Regions from separate parts of the Homo sapiens genome. Here regions 2, 3 and 4 are each linked to region 1. Evidence: promoter capture Hi-C in 16 types of primary human blood cells and fetal thymus (Javierre and others, 2016). All regions are on one chromosome and are shown on one strand. The core of a region is centred on a gene start or on the middle of the fragment in contact, and the rest is flanking DNA. Distances in the headings are between cores, read along the strand shown. Region 1 holds the start of PSMA8 (proteasome 20S subunit alpha 8). Region 2 overlaps TAF4B (TATA-box binding protein associated factor 4b). Region 3 overlaps TAF4B (TATA-box binding protein associated factor 4b). Region 4 overlaps TAF4B (TATA-box binding protein associated factor 4b).

Region 1 (2,700 bases), core at 127-2,626:
ATAGGGAAACCAAGTCCCTACGTTAAAAAAAAAAGTATTAATAATTAAATAAATTGTTTAAGTCAATTAAAATTCTGATTTAAGTATTTGGAATTCAGGGAATCAAATTTTTCCTCTTTTGAGGAAATTATTCTTTTTTTCTTTTTTTTGGTTAAAGTTGATTTCACCAACTTTAAGATCCTCCCCAGTGGAAAACTGCATATATTAAACAACACATGGAAAGCAATAATAGCTAAACTTACCTGGCTATTACTGCCCACCAGGCACCATTTTATGTAATTATGCCCATAAACACATATTAAGCTCAGAATACTCTGCTGCAGATTTTTTAATATTCCCATTTTATTGATAAGGAGAAAGCGACAGAGTTGTTTCATAGTTAGTAATGTAGCAAGTTGTAAAGAGTTTCTGCTATAGCTAAATTTCCAGACATCTTTTAAGTCTCATACTTTGGGCTTTTACAAAATTTCTCCAATTAAAAGAATATTATCTGGGCCGGGCGCGGTGGCTCACGCCTGTAATCCCAGCACTTTGGGAGGCCGAGGCAGGCGGATCACGAGGTCAGGAGATCAAGACCATCCTGGCTAACACGGTGAAACCCAGTCTCTACTAAAAATATAAAAAATTAGCCGGGCGTGGTGGCGGGCGCCTGTAGTCCCAGCTGCTCCGGAGGCTGAGGCAGGAGAATGGCGTGAACCCGGGAGGTGGAGCTTGCAGTGAGCCGAGATTGCACCACTGCACTCCAGCCTGGGCGACAGAGCGAGACTCCGTCTCAAAAAACAAAAAACAAAACAAAACAAAAAAAAGAACATTATCTTAATTCTCATCATTAGCTTAGTTTGATGGACTATTTGCTTTATTTAACGGACCATTTGCTCATCTGCTCTATTTTGCTCACAAGGCAGAAAATATCAGAAGCAACAATATTTTGAAGTTTGCTTTCTTTCCTTCGGTTCAAATAACAAGAGTTAACCTGAGAGAGAGAAAGAAAAAGTAGGAAATTTAGAATTTGAAACCAAAGGGAAGGGACTGATATTTAACTTACCACAGTTTCTCCAACATGTATGCGATAACAAAAATATCTGATATTTGAAGACCTCATTTTTAAGCCCTAATCTTTGATATTATTTTTATAACTCGAGTGCCGTGACACCATCCCTGGGGCAACACGGTAGTGGGGAAATGGAGATATGCGCTATGCGTCAGACATGAAGGGTAAGGGAAGAATGCCGTCAACTCACAGGCACTGCTTGGGTGACAAAGGCTGGCAAGCGCGAGGACATCCGCAGGCAGCCAAAGGAGCAAGGACTTCCGTGAAGCAGCCGAAGCGCGGGCGCGGGGACTTCCGGGAGGCAGCTTGAGGCGCGTGTGGAAGCGCTTCCGGGCGGTAGCACGCTGTGTTGGCGGCGGCTCCCCGCTTGCCTCAGCTGCAGCAGCGGGAAGCTCGGTGGCAAGCCCTTGTAGTCCTGTGCGATGGCGTCTCGATATGACAGGGCGATCACTGTCTTCTCCCCAGACGGACACCTTTTTCAAGTTGAATATGCCCAGGAAGCGGTGAAGAAAGGATCCACCGCGGTGAGGAAGCAACTATTACCGGACTATTCCCCGCTCTGACCTGTCAGGCCATCGTTACCCTGCTGCCCCAGCCCACCTTTCCATCCTAGGAGCTCAAGAGAGGAGATTCCCACACTTGTGAAAATTACTTTGTTCTTTTTATTTAGGGAGACAGACTTCTAGATTTGGGCCGGAAGTGGGCAGAGTAAAAGTTAGTAGATTTCCCCTATCTCTGCTGTTCAACTGCCTCTGTTTCATGGTAGCTACAGACGCAAAACTAGGGTGTGTGTGTGGGTGTGTGTGTGTGTGTGTGTGTGTCTCTGTGTGTGTGTGTGTGTGTGTAGGGACGTTAATGATGTGATTGACAATAGGGAAAGCTTCTAATCTGTAACAGCCTACCTATTGAACGCTCGTGGTCCAGTTCCTTGGTAGTTCAGAGACCCCTGGAAAAGTTAACAGTTGCTTCATGTTGGGAACTGTTTTTTAATAACAGTTACAATAAAAAATAAAAGTTGGCCACACCTGCTCCCCAAATACGGACTAAATCAATATAAAATTAAACTTTTGTTGATGAAGAAATGATTAAAAACACAGTTCAAACACACGCGTTAAAAATATCCCAAAATTGCTGGGCGCAGTGGCTCACACCTGTAATCCCAGCACTTTGGAAGGCCCAGGAGGGCGGATCACCTGAGGTCGGGAGTTTGAGACCAGCCTGACCAACATGGAGAAACTCCGTCTCTACTAAAAATACAAAATTAGCCAGGCGTGGTGGCGCATGCCTGTAATCCCAGCTACTCGGGAGGCTGAGGCGGGAGAATCGCTTGAACCTGGGAGGCAGAGGTTGCGGTGAGCCGAGATCGTGCCATTGCACTCCAGCCTGGGCAACAAAAGCGAAACTCCGTCTCGGGAAAAAAAAAAAAAATCCCAAAATTGTCCCAATATTTCCCAGCCTTGTAGAGGCTCAAAAGTCCAAGAACTTCCACTTTTTTGGCCACTTAAAAAATAATGCTGGAAGTTCCTTGAGAGATTACACCCTACCTTAGATTTATGTATCCACATTACTGAAAAACTTAAAAAATACTCAGGGTAGGAGTAATACTGCTGCCAAGTTTTAACTACGTTCAATAATTTTAGTGATTTATA
Region 2 (2,700 bases), core at 17-2,516, 230 kb after region 1:
AGGCATTTTTGTTTTCAAAATGAGAGACAGGCTGGGTGCAGTGGCTCCAGCCTGTAATCCCAGCATTTTGAGAGGCTGAGGAGTGTGGGTCACAAAACCCTGTCTCTACCAAAAAAAAAAAAAAAAAAAAAAAAAAAAGGCAGCGCGTGGTGGTGTGCGCCTGTAGTTCCAGCAACTTGGAGGGCTTAGGAGGGAGGATAGCTTGGCCCAGGAGGTCAAGGCTGCAGTGAGCTGTGATCAGGCCACTGCACTCCAGCCTGGGTGACACAGTAAGACCCTGCCTAAGAAAAAAATAAAAGAAAAAAGGAGAGAGAGGAGAGAGCCCTATTGCATGCTCCTTCAATGTTTAGGTATACTGCTGATTTGCATTAGTTACAATTGTTAGAAACCTTTATTCACTTGCTTTATTTCTTCACAAATAACACAAAAATGATGTATGAAACCATTTTTACTTTCAATATTCTGTACTCTGGAAACAAAGCCTTTACTTTTTGTTTGCTTCTTTATCGATGGGAACCTGAAATCTTAACATGTTTGAGTTAAATTTTTTAGAATCAGCATATAATCCCAGAGAGAAGTGGGAGTAGAATCTAGTTCTTCAGAGGGTAACTCTTTAGTTTGAATGCAGGTTTTTTCCTACTAAAAGGGAGCACTCTCAGTTGGGAAGATTGAATAGAATGATGGTAGTTTTTAAAAAAATGTAACATTCAAAAACATAGCACTTTAACATTCGAAGATTACCTTTATTGTTGCTAAGAAATTGGAGAAATTAGTTTTAGACCTTTGTCCTTGAGTATTTTTTGTTATGATAAAGCAAAACTTTTCTCATTAAATATGATCTATTTGTATAATTTATATATTAACCTAGCCTTTGGAAATTTACACTTGATATTCTCTGAAGTCTTGGTAAAATTGAATAGCATCAGCTGCTATCTCCTTATGTTATCCTGACAAAGAGCAGCAAGTACCAATTACAATTTTGAATAAGATATTTATACCATAAGCTTATTGGCTAGTGGGTCGCAGGAGGGTGGAAAAATAGTTAAAATGTACTATTTGGGAGTACTTTGAAATGTGTCCTTTCCTTTTGCTGCTGTGGTTTGAAGTTATATATATGAAATTAGTTTTTAAATTAATGTAGGCCGTACAGATATTGATACAGTAAAATAAAACCTACTTTAAGATTTAGAGTATTTGTATGTGTGTATTGTTTATATGTATTGTATCGGTGATGTGTTTGGGGTTCTTTGGAATTTTAAAACATTAATCACTTTACTTCCTGTGTTAATTAGAGATCCTTGGATTAGAAAGATTCTCTTTTCCCCCATTAGCTATACTTTCAAATATTTTGCATGCCTTATTAATGATCCAGCAACGTTTTTTTTTAGCACAAAGATAAGTTACATTTTAACCTTACATAATAACATGTCTAAAAAATTATACAAAATCAATTTTTGGAGCTATGAAAGTATTAAGGAATTTCAGCATACTATTTTACTTTGAATGCTTTTTTACTAACATAAATAAATGAAGCTTCCTAAGATCGTGTAATTCAGTTGATTTCATAATGCTGATATTTCTGTAACAATCAGGTTTACAGCACCAGATTAGCTACATGGTGCTTATAGTATCATTTTAGTTAAAATAGAATTTGCTAACCAAAATAAAGAAATTGCAATATGTATTAGTATATGTCCTCTCCTTCTAGAAGCAGGTTAAAGTGCTACTCTATAATTCTATTCTTTTTTTTTTTTTTTTTTTTTTGAGATAGAGTCTCGCTTTGGCACCCAGGCGGGAGTGCAGTGTCGTAATCTCGGCTCACTGCAACCTCCACCTCCTGGATTCAAGCGATTCTCCTGCCTCCGCCTCCCAGGTAGCTGGAACTACAGGCGCATGCCACCACACCCAGCTAATTTTTGTATTTTTAGTACAGATGGGATTTCACTATGTTGGCCAGGCTGGTCTTGAACTCCTGACCTCAGGTGATCTGCCCTCCTCAGCCTCCCAAAGTGCTGGGATTACAGACGTGAGCCACCGCACCTGGCCTATAATTCTGTTCTTGAGGATAAAAGTAGAAAGGACTTTTTTGAAACTTCAGTTAGCAATACATTAGAATATTTGATTGAAAATCAGAATTACATGAATCTGATTTTCAGCAGGCAGCAGAAGCTTCCGGCTTGTAGCCAAAAAGAAAGTCTGGAAAGCTAGATGGGAGTGTCTTGGAGAGGAGGGATGGTACTGGAGAGGGGTCTGTCCATGAACCGTAGGAACTCTGGTGGTTGACATGTGTGTCTATACCAGGTAAGAGGAAAAAGCAGACGGCAGAGTGAGACAGAGTCCGTGGCTTTGTCATCTTCAGAGAAGGTGGTAGTAGCGATTTGTGGACTTAATTATTTTCTACACTATTGTCTTTCCATGAATCACTTCAGTATGTAGCAAGATAGGGCTTCCAAAGCAACAGACTTGTGGTGGTCTTCTCGAACTCAGTGCTGTACATAGTTCTTTGACTGTACCTGATAGAATGTTTTTGGTTTTGTTTTTTGTTTTGAGATGGGGTCTTGCTTTATCACCCAGGCTGGAGAGCAGTGGTGCGATCTCAGCTCACTGCAACCTCCACCTCCCAGGCTCATGCCATCCTTCCGCCTCAGCCTCCTGAGTAACTGGGACCACAGGCACACGCCACCTCGCCTGACTAATTTT
Region 3 (2,754 bases), core at 142-2,641, 140 kb after region 1:
TAACTTGCCTGCAGTCAACACTTGGTAGGTGGTAATGAAATAGTAGATGGGGTGAGAATGAAACCCAGATCTGCTAGACTCAAGAGTTCCTAGAACTGTATTATATTGCCTTAGACTACTAGAGCATAACATAAAACCACAGATGTCAAAATTAACTTGTCTGATGAGTGTGAAATGAGGCACCCACTAATGTATCATAGTAATACATGCCTAAATATTTAATACCTTTAATTTCAGTCTGTGGCTGTGCCAACCAGTGTCGTCACAGTTACTCCTGGAAAGCCATTGAATACTGTAACTACCCTGAAGCCTTCAAGTTTGGGAGCATCATCCACTCCTTCAAATGAGCCCAATCTTAAAGCAGAGAACTCAGCAGCTGTTCAGATTAATCTTTCTCCGGTAAGCTCTTACTTGCACCTTACATAAATCTTGTTCCTTGCAAGTTCTTTTGAATTGTTTGCTCACTAACACTTGTGTTTGCTTATATTTACATTTTCATATTTAGACAATGCTAGAAAATGTGAAGAAATGCAAGAACTTCCTTGCAATGTTAATAAAACTAGCATGTAGTGGATCACAGTCCCCAGAAATGGGGCAAAATGTGAAGAAGCTGGTGGAACAACTTTTGGTAAGTAGTGCTATAAAATCCTGCAAATTCTGGAGGAATCCATATAACATGTTGTAATTGGGAAATGCATATTTTTAAATGGGATTTATTTAATTTATTTATTTATTTAATTTATGTTTTGAGACAGAGTCTCGCTCTGTTGCCCAAGCTGGAGTGCAGTGGCGTGATCTAGGCTGACTGCAACCTCTGCCTCCTGGGTTCAAATGATTCTCCTGCCTCAGCTTCCTGAGTAGCTGGGATTACAGGTGTGCATCACCACGCTCGGCTAATTTTTGTATTTTTAGTAGAGACGGGGTTTTGCCATGTTGGCTGGGCTGGTCTCAAACTCCTGGCCTCAAGTGATGCACTTGCCCTGACCTCCCAAAGCGTTGGGATTACAGGCGTGAACCACCAAGCCCGGCCTGAGATTTATTTTAAATGTAGTTCTTGATAAATTTTGTTTTTTGCTTCTTGAAAGCTTTGTAAAGACTATAAATCTTGGCTAGAAAAACCTATTGTATATTTCTTTTGAAAATTTACCTTTTTAAAAAAATTGTATATGTTTAAGGTATACAACATGATGTTTTGATATATATATTATTTCTGTACATCAGTCTTGCCTCCCTTACTCTACAAAGGGCCTTGGAGAAAAGGTTCATTATTTAGTCAATAGGAAATTGTTATTAGAATTATGAAATCTCTGCTGGGCACAGTGGCTCATGCCTGTAATCCCAGCACTTTGGGAGGCCGAGGCAGGTGGATCACCTGAGGTCAAGAGTTTGAGACCAGCCTGGCCAACATGGTGAAATCTCTTCTCTACTAAAAATATAAAAATTAGCCAGGTGTGGTGGCGCACGCCTGTAATCCCAGCTACTTGGAAGGCTGAGGCAGGAGAATGGCTTGAACCTGGGAGGCAGAGGTTACAGTAAGCTGAGATTGCACCACTGTACTCTAGCCCGGGCAACAGAGCAAGACTCTGTCTCAAAAAAAAAAAAAAAAAGAAAAGAAAAGAAAAAAGAATTATGAAATCTCAGAAAGCCAGGCTATCAATAGATAATGAAATTCGGTTCTTATATGTCCAGATAGACACCAAGCTTTGGGACCACAGAAGTTAGTTAATGCTCTTAGGCCTCACTTTCCTTATCTATAAGATTCTCATCTTGCAGATGAGAATGTTAAACATGATGATCGTTGATGTTTATATGAGTGCCAAGATGCTGTGTCTTTTAGCTACCAAATTATATGCCTTTGGTTTCTTACATCCTCTTTCAGGTAAAATATGTAGGTGCACTAAAAAGAGTGGAGATAGAAGTTAGCAAATATTTCATATTATATGCTTAAGACATGCTGAGGATATAACAAACAAATGGATTTGGATTTTTTGAACTACTATAATATACAGATTTCTCTCACCACGTAATTAGAATTATATTTTTCACATAAAAATTATCCCTTTTTCCAAGTATAAAATGTGTATATTTCAAATATTATACAGCAAAAACAAGCATAGTTTATAAATATTAAAATACCTTCTTTACTACTGTTTTTAATGCTGCCTGTAAGATGTTAGAGCACACTTGAAATGGTTAGTTTTTCATTTGGGAAGATGTTTTTATTACAGATGTCTAAAATACCTCATACTAACAAATTTTTAATTCAACTTACGGGTGTCTTTTTAAAAGTAAACATTGAGCTTTTGATCTTCCCTTTTCAAGGTATGCTAGTTTTGAAAGGGGATATGATGACTTGTTTCTCTGAAATGGAATACTCTAGATGAAGAGACCTGTTGGAAATGAATACGTATCCCATAAAATATTAAAGACTTTTTAACCACAAAACATATGTGTGAATTTTATGGACAGATAGAAACAGTTAGGAATTAAATATTACCTCTAGTTTTAAGATCTGTTTACTTTAGAACGACAAACAGCAGTTCTAAAACATTTTGGTTTTAGGATACCTTTAAATTCCTAAAACTTGAGGACTCCCCAAGGCATTTTGTTTTTTGTGGGGTTAACATTAAAACTGAAAAATGCTTAACTTTTTTTATTGAAAAAATTTTTTTTTGAGATAGGGTCTTAACTCTGTCACCCAGGCTGGAGTGCAGTGGCGTGAACAAGGCTCCCTGCTTTCTTGACCCTCCTGGG
Region 4 (2,700 bases), core at 21-2,520, 200 kb after region 1:
ACAAAAGAGTTTATCTTTTCGCTTGAAATGAAATTTTGTTAGTAGATTGGGGACTAAAATGAAGAAAAATTTTACCAGCTTTGGGTTGAATTTTGTGTAGATATTTAAGATGTTTGAAATTAGTAGGCACTCAAATTTAAAGACTATCTCTTATATTTTCCTTTAACCAAAGGTTCTGGTAAATCAATAAATGTATCAGGTAAACTTATTAAATATGAAAATACTTTTAGCTTTTATTTAGTTAGCTATCTAGATATTACCTTAGTTAACGAAGGTTTCATTTTATGGAACAAATACTCAGATTTATAAGCAATTAAATAACTTTGTCATGGTGAGAAAAAAGGATATACGTATCCCAAACATGTTTTCCAGTGGACAGATATTCATGGTGTCAGAAATAAAGTTCCCTACCCTTTGTTCCATCATAGCTTGATACATAGAAAACAGCTCTCTTCTTATGCCAGTTCTGTATTATGGAAGGCGACATCCAATAAACAATTATTGAACATGGTGCACAGCATTCTATTAAGTGCTATAGAGGACCCAAAGATGATAAGACATTCTAATTAAAATACTGAGATGTATTTTCTACTTATAATTTTAGAAATTATACCTTTAAAGAGAGATTTGGTTCAAGGTTAGTCAGGTTCTTGATTTTAATAGTCCTCGAAATACCTATGTTTTCCCAAATGGCTTCACCTGAAGATCAGCCAGTATTGATTGTTTTTATTCATTTAAACCAACAATTACTCTTTTTTTCTTTTCCTTCATCTGTACCACCAATTTTTTAGTTTTCAGTGTTCCTACAAGAACAACGTCATGCCTCAACTGGACCTGACTGACATCGTTAGCATCATTTTCAGTATAAGCTTCCTCCAGGCTAGAACTGCAGCAGCCAGCCCAGATGATGAGGGGGCAGGGGAAACCAGGGTGGGAGTGCAGCTAGACTGGATTGAGGTATTTTCCCCTGGAGCTAAGATATTCAATCACAAGAGAAAATTGTCATTTATTAAATATTTAATGGCAACTATGGTGTTCAGATGCTAGTAATTTCTATTAAAATTTTCTTTTCCTTTGATAGAGTCGTTCTAATAAAGAAGATCCAGAACAGCTGAGATTAAAGCAGAAAGCCAAAGAGGTAGGACTTTCAAGTTACCATGCTTGTCTTTGTGTTTGAGGGAAGGTTGGCAGCTCTCTCCTGGCAATTAGGTCAGGGTTTATTTTGCTGTTGCATACCATTTGCAGAAGCCTTGGGGAAGGACAGGAACTGCTAAAGGCAAGGGCAGTACTTCAAATGAGGTCAATGAGTTATGTGCTCTCTTTTTAAAATTTATTTTCAAGGCTTAGGCCTGTCTCGAAATGGGTCTTTGTAAACTACAGCAGCATACTTGGAGGAATATAATGTGAGATTTTAAAAAAAAAGAAACTTTTGAGATTTAGCATCTGGGACTGTACAATAGGCTACATTTTTCCAGGGTAATTGTTCGTTTTGTAAATCTGATACTGCTTATAATTCTTTGGCTGGGAGGCGGTGCTGGGATTTAGTTTTAAATGGAAAATGCCTCTGGCTTTTAATTTTCTGGGCCCAGCAGTTTTCTGTTCTGGAATGGAGCCCTTGTTTCACACAGTTCATGTTTAGCTGCAGGGGTTTTAGTTTATAGCTTAGACTGGTTAAGCTTTTACTCCCAGAGGCCTCTGCATAGCAACTGTAGAAATCAACAAATAAGTTCATTTATGTCTGCAGCCTCCTCTCAGTAGCTGACTTTTTACATTTCCCAATATCCATTTCCTGACTTTTCTAGCCCCAGAGAAAAAAGCTCCACTAATTGGAGCTTATTTTAATTGAGCCTTAATATTGGATCTCACTGGAGTTGCCCCCAGAGCTGCTGAGAACAGAATGAAATGAAAGTACCTAAGGTTGAAGGTGCAGTGTGTGTATGGGTGTGTGTGTGAAATTTTTCACTTGACCTACAGATTCTTTTCCCTCCTGAATAAATCATCAAGCCTGTTCACATTTCTGATTAAGGATCTGACAGCAGATGATAATAAAGACAATTGAGGTGTGAGACGTGTGATATGGAGCTGAAGAAATTGGTTTCTATAGTTACTTCACTGATTTCATGCAATTTTTAAGGATCTTTGTGCTAAATAAGAGTGATTTTCTGAGCAACCTTTTCCCTTAACTGTGCCTCTTGAACTATGAAATTTGTTGTTGCTTAACATTGCTGCAGTTGGCTCCTAGGTGCCAGCAGCAGCAGGTTATTTATGAACGTTTTAAAGGCCCTTATTGTTTGGATTAATGTAGGAATTGAGGCAAAACAAGTGGAAATCTAGTAAGATTCTTACAATCAATGTGGTGTGTTTTCATTAACATAGAGAAGGAAAATACATGAACTCTGGGTGGAGGGATTTCAGGATTGGGACAGGGAACGATGGAAAGGGAGAACACTTTAAAAAAAAAGTTGAGAGCAGAAACATTTTATTTTCAGCAACAAGATATTCCTTATACTGATGTCTTTCCAGTGGAAAATGTATCTAAAATTATTAGTATGAGAACTGTACCTATAATTCTCTTTAAGCAAACCTGGCATGAGGATAGATTATTTAGGGATGGGCAACCTACTGTTGCTCTGAATCATGGGTATCCCACCTTGTTTTAATTAAGGACTGACTAGATGCTTATCTTCTAATTGCATTCCC

Evidence for each region. The method cuts DNA at HindIII sites, captures the fragments that hold promoters and counts their contacts. A CHiCAGO score of 5 or more calls a contact.
Region 2: a fragment that was not itself captured here is called in contact with the fragment with the promoter of PSMA8 in region 1 in 1 of 17 cell types (activated CD4 T cells); the score reaches 5.1 in activated CD4 T cells.
Region 3: a fragment that was not itself captured here is called in contact with the fragment with the promoter of PSMA8 in region 1 in 1 of 17 cell types (activated CD4 T cells); the score reaches 5.2 in activated CD4 T cells.
Region 4: a fragment that was not itself captured here is called in contact with the fragment with the promoter of PSMA8 in region 1 in 2 of 17 cell types (activated CD4 T cells and naive CD4 T cells); the score reaches 5.8 in activated CD4 T cells.

The regions. Positions count from the first base shown.
Region 1 is chr18:26,132,493-26,135,192 of GRCh38, forward strand. It overlaps PSMA8 (proteasome 20S subunit alpha 8), which reads left to right and starts at 1,377. Exons shown (of 7, transcript NM_001025096.2): 1 at 1,377-1,575. The coding sequence starts at 1,474. The HindIII fragment of the contact is 6,300 bases long and covers 1-1,929 here.
Region 2 is chr18:26,363,261-26,365,960 of GRCh38, forward strand. The region is part of intron 14 of TAF4B (TATA-box binding protein associated factor 4b); the gene reads left to right. Among named protein-coding and RNA genes, the nearest start is that of LINC01543, 58 kb to the right of the region's middle. The HindIII fragment of the contact is 529 bases long and covers 1,003-1,531 here.
Region 3 is chr18:26,274,426-26,277,179 of GRCh38, forward strand. TAF4B (TATA-box binding protein associated factor 4b) reads left to right here. Exons shown (of 15, transcript NM_005640.3): 4 at 238-399; 5 at 506-628. Among named protein-coding and RNA genes, the nearest start is that of TAF4B, 49 kb to the left of the region's middle. The HindIII fragment of the contact is 616 bases long and covers 1,084-1,699 here.
Region 4 is chr18:26,334,094-26,336,793 of GRCh38, forward strand. TAF4B (TATA-box binding protein associated factor 4b) reads left to right here. Exons shown (of 15, transcript NM_005640.3): 13 at 1,082-1,138. Among named protein-coding and RNA genes, the nearest start is that of LINC01543, 88 kb to the right of the region's middle. The HindIII fragment of the contact is 807 bases long and covers 868-1,674 here.